Linked DNA regions of Homo sapiens: region 1 is linked to region 2. The links are contacts of gene promoters, found by promoter capture Hi-C in blood cells and fetal thymus (Javierre and others, 2016). All regions are on one chromosome and are shown on one strand. The core of a region is centred on a gene start or on the middle of the fragment in contact, and the rest is flanking DNA. Distances in the headings are between cores, read along the strand shown. Region 1 holds the start of CIDEB (cell death inducing DFFA like effector b). Region 2 has its middle 8.7 kb from the start of CARMIL3.

Region 1 (5,928 bases), core at 1,091-3,590, 260 kb before region 2:
CTAGCACATCTGGGCAAAACTGGATGGTGGGGTGTAAAGGGACGTGCACAGATCTACTTACCAAGCTGGGAGCAAGCAGGATTGGGGGCCTGGAGAAGCTGAAAGGTTAAGCAGCAGTAGGCGAGGTGCCTACTCCTGTCCTGTGCCTATCACATTTGCAGAGGGTAAGACAAGAATGGGGAGGGACAAGATGAGGCTCATCCTGGGCCTCTCCTGGGGCCCCTCCCTCACCCTGCTCCTTCCCATCACCAACGCACCCAGGCGTCCAGGCATGTGAGAGCCTGCCTTGCCAGGAAACAGCACAAGCTGAAGTGGGGCAGTAAGATTCCCTGGTGGTGGAAGGAAATAGGAGGACTCTGCTGAATCCTGGTCCTGCTTCTGTTCTCATCCCTCCCCCAGCTCTGGCCCCAATCCTCCCAGCCCACCTTCTGCAGTGTGTATGTTGCCTGGTCTCTCTGGCCTGCAGAGGTGACCCAAACAACTCAGTCCCCCACCTGCCTTATCCTTGCCTGTTTCCAGTCTCCTGGTCCGGCTGAGCCCCTGGCCTCCTACCTCCTCCCACCTCTTGCCTCAGGCCCTGCCCCAGTCACTCCACCCTCAGGGCTCTCACCGGGCTGTCAATGACAGCTTTTCCATGTAAGGCATGGTGCTAGGTTCCAGGAGGAACAGGGGATGCATGGAGGCATAATGGTTAGGGAGTCATGACACACAACCATGAAGAGGCCCCATTACCAGGCTGCACCAGGATACAAGACAAGAAAGGAAAGGATGAGTAGGGACATACTAAGAAGCAGCCCTCTCCTCTTGGAAAAGTCAAGCAAAACTTGGAAATGAAGAGATTTGAGGGGGGCCTGGCAGATGGATAGAGCTGGGGGAAGGGAAAAGAAAGGCCTCTGCTCAAGTAACAGCCAGAACTTGAGGTTGCTTGGGGAGGGCACCAGGAGCACTGTCTTAGTTTGGGTTCTTCCAAAGCAGAGCTTGAGCTAAGGGCTTGGGTACAGGTGATCCTGTATTCTTGAGCTAAGGGCTTGGGTACAGGTGATCCTGTATTTGGGAGGTTAACTCAGGAAGTGAGGGCATAAGGTAAAACAAGAGAGAGGAAAGCCATTAAGAGTATGTTAAGTCCCTTCAGTAGGCCTTGGGAACCTCTGAGAAAAGTATAGATTGCCCAAGACAAAAGACTGGCAGGGTGATCAGTCCAAAGCATTTATTAGGAGAATGTACTTAATGAGTGGGCTACAGCGTATCCTCACAACAGACAGTGAGAGAGAGTTGTTCTACCTGGGTATATCCAAAACAAGGGGGTCAGGGTATGGAGTTTACGAGGGTTCAAGGTATTTGGTTCAGGGCCAGGGCCAGTTTTTTTCAGTGTTTTGGGCAACAACCTGAATACCTTTTCAAGGCTCTGGCTTGGGCTCAAGCCTGCAGGGGAAATGCAACTGGCCAGGTCACAGGGCAATCAAGTTACTCTGTGTTTCTTTGTCAGGACACAGAAAAAAAGTGGGGAAGCTGGGGGACCCTACAAGGATCCTTGGCAGGAAAGCAGGGATTGTGTTCATTTGAGGGTTTCACTGTCAGTGAGAGTCTCAGCTTCCATGCAACTGTCCATCACGGCTGCAACTGAAATCAGAGCTGGGACACAGCGCACCAGAAGCTAAAGTCTTGATGCCATCAAAGGACATCCCTGCCCCATTCACATCTCTGTCACGTCCACTAATCGGCAAAAGGAGAAAAGTGAGAGAAGATGACCTAAGTGTGACTGCAGCAGGCAGCTCTGGAAAATGAAGCCAGAGCAGTGAGCCAGCCCCTCCTCCGACCAAGGAGGAAGGAAAGAGCAGGTAAGCAGGAAGGCCAGTGTCCCAGACAGGACCCTAATGATCCTGAATCCATGTATCAGGATCCATCCTCTCCTTACACCCTTCCTGGACACAGTCTCACCTCTCATTTTCCAAAGCCCTGCCATGCTGCCATCCCACTTCCCCACACTCTGCCCCGGGTTCCCTTTTCCTAAAGCTGCAGCTTATGGCTTCTCCAGTAGGTGGCAGCACACACAGAGCCACTCATAAACTGCAGCTTCTCAGAGCCTGAGAGCCAGAAACCGTCCCCAGAAATTCCCTCCATAGAAATAAAAAAACACCAGAAGTCACATTTCATCCTTTTACATGGTTCCCATCTACCCTCACAACACATGTCATCACCAAAGACACACATACAAGCTCCAATGGCTTTTGCCAGGCAATTCTTCCTCCAGGACCCCATCTGGCCCCTCCCTCATCCCTCCCCTTGGACTTTGCCCTTCTTACTGGCCAGGCAGGGGGGCCAGAGTCCAGGCTTGACTCATTCCCACCTTGTCCTGGGCTGAGATCCCAGGTTTGTAACAGAAAACACCACTAAAGCCCCAGCACAGGAGAGAACCACCCAGCCCAGAAGTTCCAGGGAAGGAACTCTCCGGTCCACCATGGAGTACCTCTCAGCTCTGAACCCCAGTGACTTACTCAGGTGACTGCTAACCCTCCGCTCTACCCTCCACCTTTAGGGGATATAGGCAGGGCAACAATACTCCACTCAGCCCCTAGGAGACTAACCAGTACCCCTTCCTCTCCTGCTCCCCACTCCACAGTGGGCTTGTCAAGCTCCTGAGCCACCCGCCCCCACCTGCACTCCATGGTCTCTCCCTCATCCCTAATCGATAAACCTAGATCTCTCCCTCCCTAGCCCTCTAGCCACTCTACCCTCATCATGCCCTTTACACTCACCAAGCCCCTCCTCGCCCCTTCTTGACTTTTCTTCTCAACTACCAGGTCAGTATCTAATATAAGCTCGGAGTTTGGACGGAGGGTCTGGACCTCAGCTCCACCACCCCAGCGACCTTTCCGTGTCTGTGATCACAAGCGGACCATCCGGAAAGGCCTGACAGCTGCCACCCGCCAGGAGCTGCTAGCCAAAGTAAGTAGGCCAAGTTCCTCGGTTCCTATAGCAGGGGTAGCCAAGGGGCTCCACAACAGTGGCAACTTGTGATGATGGAGCAGAGGGCTGAAGTCACACAGCTGCCCCTCCCTCTGAGGGCTAAAAGCAGCGGAGTGGGCCTAATGAGCTCTGGTCAATTTGTTCATTTTCCACCGAGTGAGCTTTTCTATGGGAGCAGGGGTTAGCAGGAGATAGGGAGAGTTCGAGGGACAGAATTCAGAAGCTAGTATGGAAAGGTGATTTGTGTGACAAATCAAGTTCAAATTCTGATTCTGCCACTTCCTGCCTGTCAAACCTTGGGAAGTTGTTCAACCTACCAAAACCTCAGTTTCTTCAACTATAAAAAGGCAATAATAATACATCACCTCCTAGGGTTGTTGAAAGGAGTAAGAGGATAATGTAGGTAAAGTCCTCATACCTGGCACAGAGTAAGGACTCAAAAAGGTTAAACACTATTACTGAAAACACTTCTGGAGAACTCTTGAGGGTGTGGGAAGTGAGGTGCAGCATTGTAGATAAGACAGAAGGGTGGACTTCGTGAGAACCTGGCTTGCTTTCCAATTCCAAACCAGAAGTGACTTGGAGGGGAGCAAGGGGAGATGCCAATGACATGGTAGGAGCAAAGAGGAAAAAGGTCAGCCTCTAGCTAGGATCCCCCAAAAACTGAAGAACACGGAGAGCTGCAACCTTTAGGAGGTATCAAAGTGCCGGAAAGTCAAAGTGGGACATCGACCAATGTCTAGAGCCAACTGATGGATGTTGGGCAGCTAAAGAGGGAAGGGGCATGGGATAAGACCTGCCCTTCTTGCTTCTTGCCATTGGGCAGGCATTGGAGACCCTACTGCTGAATGGAGTGCTAACCCTGGTGCTAGAGGAGGATGGAACTGCAGTGGACAGTGAGGACTTCTTCCAGCTGCTGGAGGATGACACGTGCCTGATGGTGTTGCAGTCTGGTCAGAGCTGGAGCCCTACAAGGGTAAGAGGCCTATACTGGGGCTGCTTCCAATGCCTGTCCTTTAGAGCTTTCCCGGGCTTCCTCTCTAGCTTAACCCTGATCCTGGGGACCAGGTGCAGGAGGAGTTGTGGAATTGTCAAGGATGTCACACAGTGGACAGAAAGTCCAAGCGAGGGAGGGTCTGACCCAGTGCTGATGGAGATTAGTGGTGGGTGTCTGGTATGAGGATCTACTGCACTGACAAGGGTGTCCTACAGAGTGGAGTGCTGTCATATGGCCTGGGACGGGAGAGGCCCAAGCACAGCAAGGACATCGCCCGATTCACCTTTGACGTGTACAAGCAAAACCCTCGAGACCTCTTTGGCAGCCTGAATGTCAAAGCCACATTCTACGGGCTCTACTCTATGAGTTGTGACTTTCAAGGACTTGGCCCAAAGAAAGTACTCAGGTCAGAAATCAACATGTCATACTGCCCCATCCCCTACAGTTGGATAGTCCCCATAATTCGTCCTCTTGCACCCACCTACCCCTAGTTAGCTCTTGCTTGTGGAAAGTCCTCATCTCCCAGCTTGATGGCTTCCTCCCAAGTTTTCCAAATCATCTGATTTCCTCTTGTCTCTGCCATTCAGGGAGCTCCTTCGTTGGACCTCCACACTGCTGCAAGGCCTGGGCCATATGTTGCTGGGAATTTCCTCCACCCTTCGTCATGCAGTGGAGGGGGCTGAGCAGTGGCAGCAGAAGGGCCGCCTCCATTCCTACTAAGGGGCTCTGAGCTTCTGCCCCCAGAATCATTCCAACCGACCCACTGCAAAGACTATGACAGCATCAAATTTCAGGACCTGCAGACAGTACAGGCTAGATAACCCACCCAATTTCCCCACTGTCCTCTGATCCCCTCGTGACAGAACCTTTCAGCATAACGCCTCACATCCCAAGTCTATACCCTTACCTGAAGAATGCTGTTCTTTCCTAGCCACCTTTCTGGCCTCCCACTTGCCCTGAAAGGCCAAGATCAAGATGTCCCCCAGGCATCTTGATCCCAGCCTGACTGCTGCTACATCTAATCCCCTACCAATGCCTCCTGTCCCTAAACTCCCCAGCATACTGATGACAGCCCTCTCTGACTTTACCTTGAGATCTGTCTTCATACCCTTCCCCTCAAACTAACAAAAACATTTCCAATAAAAATATCAAATATTTACCACTAAGACTTCTGACTCCAATTTAAACCAGGAAAGGGATGGGGTGGATACCCCATTTTGCCCTCCCCCATCAACACCCAGTCCCAGATCCAAAGCCTCAGTCTTCAAGTATGGAGTTCAATGCCCGCCTCCGCTTGGCCACCGCACCCTGCTGCTGTTCCCAAGCCTCTCGCCGCTTTAGGAAGGTAGTCAAGGCCACATTTCGAGCCACATGGTGGCCGAAAGGGTCTCTTATCAGCTCCTGGTTCTGCTCCCCTGCAAAGGGAACCACTCATGTTTAGTACTACCATGCTCAAAGACAGACTCTACTTGACGTAAAGATCCCTCCATTTCCCCCAGACCCTGGGACTGCCACTGGGATAAAGTGAACACTTCACTTTCCAAAGAACAGAAGTCAGAGGGCAGGGTGAGGGCAGAGGACTACACAATCAGTCAGCGGGAGGGAAGGGGAAAGCAGACTGCTAAGAACCCATGAGCAAGACCACCCTTTGGAACTAAAGACTGTTGAATTTCAGTAGACTTCCCAGCTACCCAGTGATCTGGAGTAAGAGAGGGGAGAGTCTGGAAACATCAAAGAGAGGGGCTGGTACTCACCAAGCTCAGCAGCAATTTCCTTCCGGGCCCTCAAGGCTGCTCCACTCCAGATGGCATCTAGCACACGGCTGCCATGGCGACTACAGGCCAGAGCCACATATTGTCCCTGTATGGAGACAAGCAAAGTAGGTCTCCCTAGCAAAATCCACAAAAGTATTTTGGAGGCTTGTGGAGAGTGAATTTTCTGAAGAGTTTAAGGGCTGAATTAAA
Region 2 (6,154 bases), core at 2,130-4,629:
TCTGTGAACACATAAATGATAAGAAAGCAAAACAGCTTTATTGTTAATATGGCTTCAAAACTTCAAAGGACAGGCTTATTCTCTTGTTAGGGGCTAATGCAGCCAGTGACTTTAAGTTGAAGCCAATGCTCATTTACCATTCTGAAAATTCTAGGGCTCTCAAGATTTATGCTAAATCTACTCTGCCTGTGCTCTATAAATGGAACAACAAAGCCTGGATAACAGCACATCTGTTTATAGCATGGTTAACTGAATATTTTAAGCTCACCGTTGATAGCTACTGCTCAGAAAAAGATTCCTTTCAAACTGTTACTGCTCATTGACAATGCACCTGGTCACTCAAAAGCTCTGATGGAGATGTACAAGGAGATTAATGTTGTTTTCATGCCTGCTAACACAACATCCATTCTGCAGCCCATGGATCAGGGGGTAATTCTGACTTGCAAGACTTGTTATTTAAGAAATACATTTTGTAAGGCTGTAGCTGCCATAGATAATGATTCCTCTGATTTATCTGGGCAAAGTCAACTGAAAACCTTCTAAAAAGGATCCACCATTCTAGATGCCATTAAGAATATTTGTGATTCATGGGAGGAGGTCAAAATATCTACATTAACAGGAGTCTGGAAGAAGTTGATTCCAACCCTCATGGATGACGTGGAAGGGTTCAACACTGCATCAGAGGAAGGAACTGCAGATGTGGTGGAAATAGCAAGAGAACTAGAAGTGGAGCTGGAAGATGGGACTGAATTGCTGCAATCTCACGACAAAATGTAGATGGCTGAGGAGCTGGTTCTTACGGATAAGCAAATAAAGTGGTTTCTTGGGATGGAATCTATTTCCGGTGAAGATGCCATGAACATTGTTGAAATCACAACACGGGATTCAGAATATGATATGTACTTAGTTGAGTAAGCAGTGGTAGAGTTTGTAGGATTGACTCCAATTTTGAAAGAAGTTCTACTGTGGGTAAATGCTATCAAACAGGCTTGCATGCTACAGAGAAATCTTTTGTGAAAGGAAGAGTCAACTGATGTGGCAAACTTCACTGCTGTCTTATTTGAAGAAATTGCCACAGCCACCCCAGCCTTCAGCAACACCACCCTAAGTCAGCCACCATCAATGTTGAGGCAAGACCCTCTAAGGCCGGATGTGGTGGCTCACGCCTGTAATCCTAGCACTTTGGGAAACCGAGGCGGGTGAATCACGAGGTCAGGAGATTGAGACCATCCTGGCTAACACGGTGAAACCCCGTCTCTACTAAAAATACAAAAAATTAGCTGGGTGTGGTGGCGGGTGCCTATAGTCCCAGCTACTCAGGAGGCTGAGGCAGGAGAATCGCTTGAACCTGGGAGGCGGAGGTTGCAGTGAGCCGAGATGGTGCCATTGCACTCCAGCCTGGGCTACACAGTGAGACTCCATCTAAAAAAAAAAAAAAAAAAAGACCCTCCACCAGCAAAAAGATTACAACTTCTAAAGGCTCAGATCATTGTTAGCACTTTTTAGCAATAAAGTATTTTAAAATTAAGATATGTATATATTTTTAAAGACATAATGCTATTGCTCATTTAATAGACAACCATTAGATGACCATTATAGTGTAAACGTAACTTTTATATGCACTGGGAAACCAAAAAATTCGTGTGTCTCACTTTATTATAATATTCACTTTATTGTGCGGTGGCCTGGAACCAGACCCACAATATCTCCGAGGTGTGCCTGTACTTAGTTTAAAACTGACTTTCATAGGGTCTCTATTCAGACTGTTCATGAAAGATGTTCCTCCATTGTAAAGACTATCAGAATCTGTCTGGGTGCAGTGGCTCACGCCTATAATCCCAGCACTTTGAGAGGCCGAGGTGGGTGGATCAGTTGAGGCCAGGAATTTGAGACCAGCCTGGGCAACACAGTGAAACCCTGTCTCTACTGAAAATATCAAAAATTAGCCGGGCATGGTGGCACATGCCTGTAGTCCCAGGTACTTGGCAGGCTGAGGCACAAGAATCGCTTGAACCTGGGAGGCGGGGGTTGCAGTGAGCTAGATCGCAGCACTGCACTCCAGCCTCGATGACACAGCGAGGAAAAAAAAAAAAAGAGGGACAAAGCTTAACAATAAAAAACTAGCTCACTGAAGAACATTTTGGCACTTTGGTCTTTATGTGTATGAAACACTGGTAAATAAATCATAGTGTTTTCACATCCTGATACTTTAGTGTTGAGAAATGTTTGATGACATCTGATATAGTTGGTATGTTTGTCCCCTCTAAGTCCCATGTTGAAATGTGATCACCAGTGTTCAAGGTGGAACCTGGTGTGAGGTGTTTGGGTCATGGGGTGGATCCCTTATGAATGGCTTGGTGCTCTCCTGGTGGCAATTAGTGAGCTCTCACTCTATTAGTTCATGCCAGAGCTAGTTGTTTAAAAGCCTGGTATCTCACTTCCTCTCTTGCCATGTAACGCGCCTGCTCCCTTTTGCCTTCTGCTATGATTGTAAGCTTCCTGAGGCCTCATCAGAAGCAGATACTGGCACCATGCTTCTTCTGCAGTCTGCAGAAGTGTAAACCAAAACAACCCTCTTTTCTTTTCTTTTTTTTTTTTTTTTGAGACGGAGTCTCGCTCTGTCACCCAGGCTGGAGTGCAGTGGCGCAATCTCGGCTCACTGCAAGCTCCGCCTCCCGGGTTCACACCATTCTCCTGCCTCAGCCTCCCAAGTAGCTGAGACTACAGGTGCCCGCCACCACACCCGGCTGATTTTTTGTATTTTTAGTAGAGACGGGCTTTCACCATGTTAGCCAAGATGGTCTCGATCTCCTGACCTCGTGATCTGCCCGCCTCGACCTCCCAAAGTGTTGGGATTACAGGCGTTAGCCACCGCGCCCGGCCACAACCCTCTTTTTCTTTATAAATTGCCCAGCTCAGGTATTCCTTTATAGCAACGCAAAACAGACTAATACAACATCAGAGTAAAAAGCAAAACCATGGGAGATCATAAAAAATTAGCATTTCCAAATCGTGGGACTATTAACCTTAGTATACAAAGACAAATATTTTAATTAAAGCTTTGTAATTAAAGAATGTGTGTGAAATATATTACGAATGTAATGTAATTATATACTTACACATAAAACCCAATATTGTACCACTTGAATATAGACATCTGGATCTCAGATTTTCTTGACATTGCAGTTAGGAAGAAAATAATATAGGTTTTTATTTTTACTTTTTTAAAGGATGTATATTATAAAGTGGCAACTGGTTATTTCACCAGAATTAGTATTTTACTTAACTAGCAGCTTTTAATATTTCCCAGCTAATGAAAAATGATTCCTTTTTGGCAGCTGAAAGGGGGACAGTTGGGTGTGTAAGTTTAAGTGTCATAGTTGTTGGCATATTAGCTGCCACGTCTCTGTTGGAAATCAACCAGGTAGCAGAGCATGCCGGGAAGAAGGCTGGGGAGGGGAGCAGACGGTGGATAGTGAAGGGCAGATGGAAGCAGACAGAAGTAGGAGCAGCAGAAACGAATGAGAAGGGCAGGGACAGAGGAAGCTGCCCCCACCCGCCCTTTACCAGGTGTGCTCCAGGTGTGTGGCATGTGGCAAAGACTCCTCACATTTACACTGCACTTGATAAACACATTCTAAAAGCAGACGGAGTTTGTTATCGATAGTGATAGGATATCAATAACTCCATGAAGCTTCATAGCCTAGGGAGAGGGGTAAGGTCTGGACCAGGGCTGCAGTAAGTAAGGGAGGTGCATTTATTCACGTTGATAAAAACTTCCTTCTGGGCGGGGCGTGGTGGCTCACGCCGGGAATCATGGCACTTTGGGAGGTCACGGTGGGAGGACCACTTGAACTGAGCAGTTTGAGAGAAGCCTGGGCAACATAGGGAGACCTTATCCCTATATTTAAAAAAACAACAACAATGACAACAACAACAACAACAAATCTTCCTTCTTAGGAACTATCGTCAAAATAACTTCTATTTCTTAAAACATCTTTTTTGAAAACTACCCTAAGATCTGCTGCTAACCATTTAAGGTTGGCTTCTTTCTTTTTTTAGATGGAGTCTTCCTCTGTCACCCAGGCTGGAGTTCAGTGGCATGATCCCAGCTCACTGCAGCCTTGACCTACTGGGTTCAAGCCATCCTCCTGCCTCAGCCCCCCAAGTAGCTGAGAATACAGGTGCGTGCCATCACACCTGGGCAATTTTTGTACTTTTTGTAGAGACAGGGTCTTGCCATGTTGCCCAGGCTGGTCTGGAACTCCTGAGCTAAAGCCATCCGCCTGCCTCGGCCTCTCAAAGTGTTACAGGTGTGAGCCACCAGGAAGTTGGCCTTATTTCTTTTGCAGTGTTTTCTTCCCACCTCCTATTCTTCTAAGGCTGTCTCTGACCCTATGCTCTTTTCTTTACATTTTCCCATTTGGGAGCTCCTTCATTCTCGTGATTTCAAATCTCACCCCAAAATCTATTTCCAGACCCCTCCTCTTCCTTTCACACTGAGTTCCACCCACATTTCTCCAAGTGCTTACTGTCCAGTTCTTCTTGAATAAGTTACCATTATTTCAAAGTCAATCTGGCCACACTTACCTGAATGGAAAAACTGGCTTAAATAGAGCTGTAGAAAGTTACCCTGGAGGGGCCTTTGAGATCATCTATTCCAATGTCCTTAAGGTGGAGATGATGAAACAGGTTCAGGGAATTTTCTCAAGATCATATAGTTCAGTAGTAACACACTGGGGCTAGCTAAGAACAGGAGGCCTGCTTATTCCGTGTTGGGGAAAGTGATTTGTTCAGGGCATAAAGCTAGTTAGTGGTGGAAGAACTGAGGTCAGTCTCCCACTTTGTAGCACAGAGCTAATTCGTAAGAGCCCTCTGAAAGTGAGCTGGGGTCATTAGGAAACCGGCTGCCCAGGAGAGCCATGATGGGAGAAGATACCAGCCTGAATTTAAAGCAATTCCATATTTGGTTATGATGTCATTTTCCCTGTCTCTGTCTCTCTCTTTTGACCTGGAGGCATGAAAGATTCAAGGCAGAAAGGGAAATTTAAACTGAGAAAGCCAAGAAAGGCAACATCTCACCTCCTTAATAAGTTATAAGTAGGTAGTGAGGCATGTGCTAGAGTAATGAATGGCCAAGCAGAATCTGCCAACAAGGGTTTTCAGTACAAAGCCACCCTGAAACCAGACTTTGCATTTGCCTGGAACTGGCAATTTTGATGCCTTGGGCAAGTAGCAGTACATGGGCCCTTGGTCAATTTTGTGCTCCGGATTTGGCCCACGGAGGGGTGTTATTAACAATGTACACCATCTGCTAGCTTCCCATTTTAACTAATTATTCTTGTTAACTAGGTGCTAACCTTCAACACAGTTGAAGAAATGCCTGGGCTGTCAACGTGTAAATCTAACAAAATTTAAAGTCAAGTACTCTTTTAAAACCAGTATGAATACTTTCTTGCACCCTTTAAATTTTGGTATCCTGGCACAAAGCCAAGTCACCTGCCTTGGCTCTGTGTAAGTCTCACCAATGTACTTGTTACTAGGGAGGTGCAGAATAAGTTAATAAGTGATGTGTGCTGTGCTCAGTGCACGTGTGTTTGGGCTGGGAGAAGACAGTGGATTGCTCCAGAATCACCTGGAGACATTTTCTACTCTGCTGCATACCCCATGCCCCTCTACTTCCAGGTCTGTCAGCACAGAGATGGGAGGAGGCTGGGTTTTGAATGAACAGAGACAGCAAACCATAAAAGATGAATGAGGCTGGGTGTGGTGGCTCACACCTATAATCCTAGCACTTTGGTACGGCCAGTAGGGAGGACCGCTTGAGGCCAGGAGTTCAAAACCAGCCTGGGCAATAAAGCCCCAACTCTACAACAAATTTAAAAGATGAACTGGCGTGGTGGTGCATGCCTATAATCTTAGCCACTTGGGAGGCTGACGGGGGAGGACTGCTTGAGCTCAAGAGTTGGAGGTTACAGTGAGCTATGATCATGCCACTGCACTCCAGCCTGGGCAACAGAGTGAGGCCCTGTCTCTGGGGGGAAAAGAAAAAGATGTCTTCTAAGTGTTCTAAATTGTGTGATCACTACACTAAAGTGGTTAGGAGCTGTTTGTTCTGTGTTCTGATAGTTATACATTTTTAAGAAAAAATATA

What was found. Contacts are between HindIII fragments. The CHiCAGO score rates a contact against its expected background, and 5 or more counts as called.
Region 1: a contact is called between the fragment with the promoter of CIDEB here and a fragment that was not itself captured in region 2, in 1 of 17 cell types (activated CD4 T cells). The highest score is 5.8, in activated CD4 T cells.

The regions. Positions count from the first base shown.
Region 1 is chr14:24,304,389-24,310,316 of GRCh38, reverse strand. CIDEB (cell death inducing DFFA like effector b) reads left to right here and starts at 2,340. Exons shown (of 5, transcript NM_001393339.1): 1 at 2,340-2,499; 2 at 2,802-2,946; 3 at 3,794-3,943; 4 at 4,180-4,370; 5 at 4,552-5,130. The coding sequence starts at 2,459. The coding sequence ends at 4,684. It overlaps NOP9 (NOP9 nucleolar protein), which reads right to left. Exons shown (of 10, transcript NM_174913.3): 9 at 5,719-5,824; 10 at 1,193-5,379. The coding sequence ends at 5,222. It overlaps LTB4R2 (leukotriene B4 receptor 2), which reads right to left and starts at 177. Exons shown (of 2, transcript NM_019839.5): 1 at 62-177. The HindIII fragment of the contact is 15,090 bases long and covers 1-5,928 here.
Region 2 is chr14:24,040,237-24,046,390 of GRCh38, reverse strand. It overlaps the pseudogene DHRS4L1. Among named protein-coding and RNA genes, the nearest start is that of CARMIL3, 8.7 kb to the left of the region's middle. The HindIII fragment of the contact is 635 bases long and covers 3,062-3,696 here.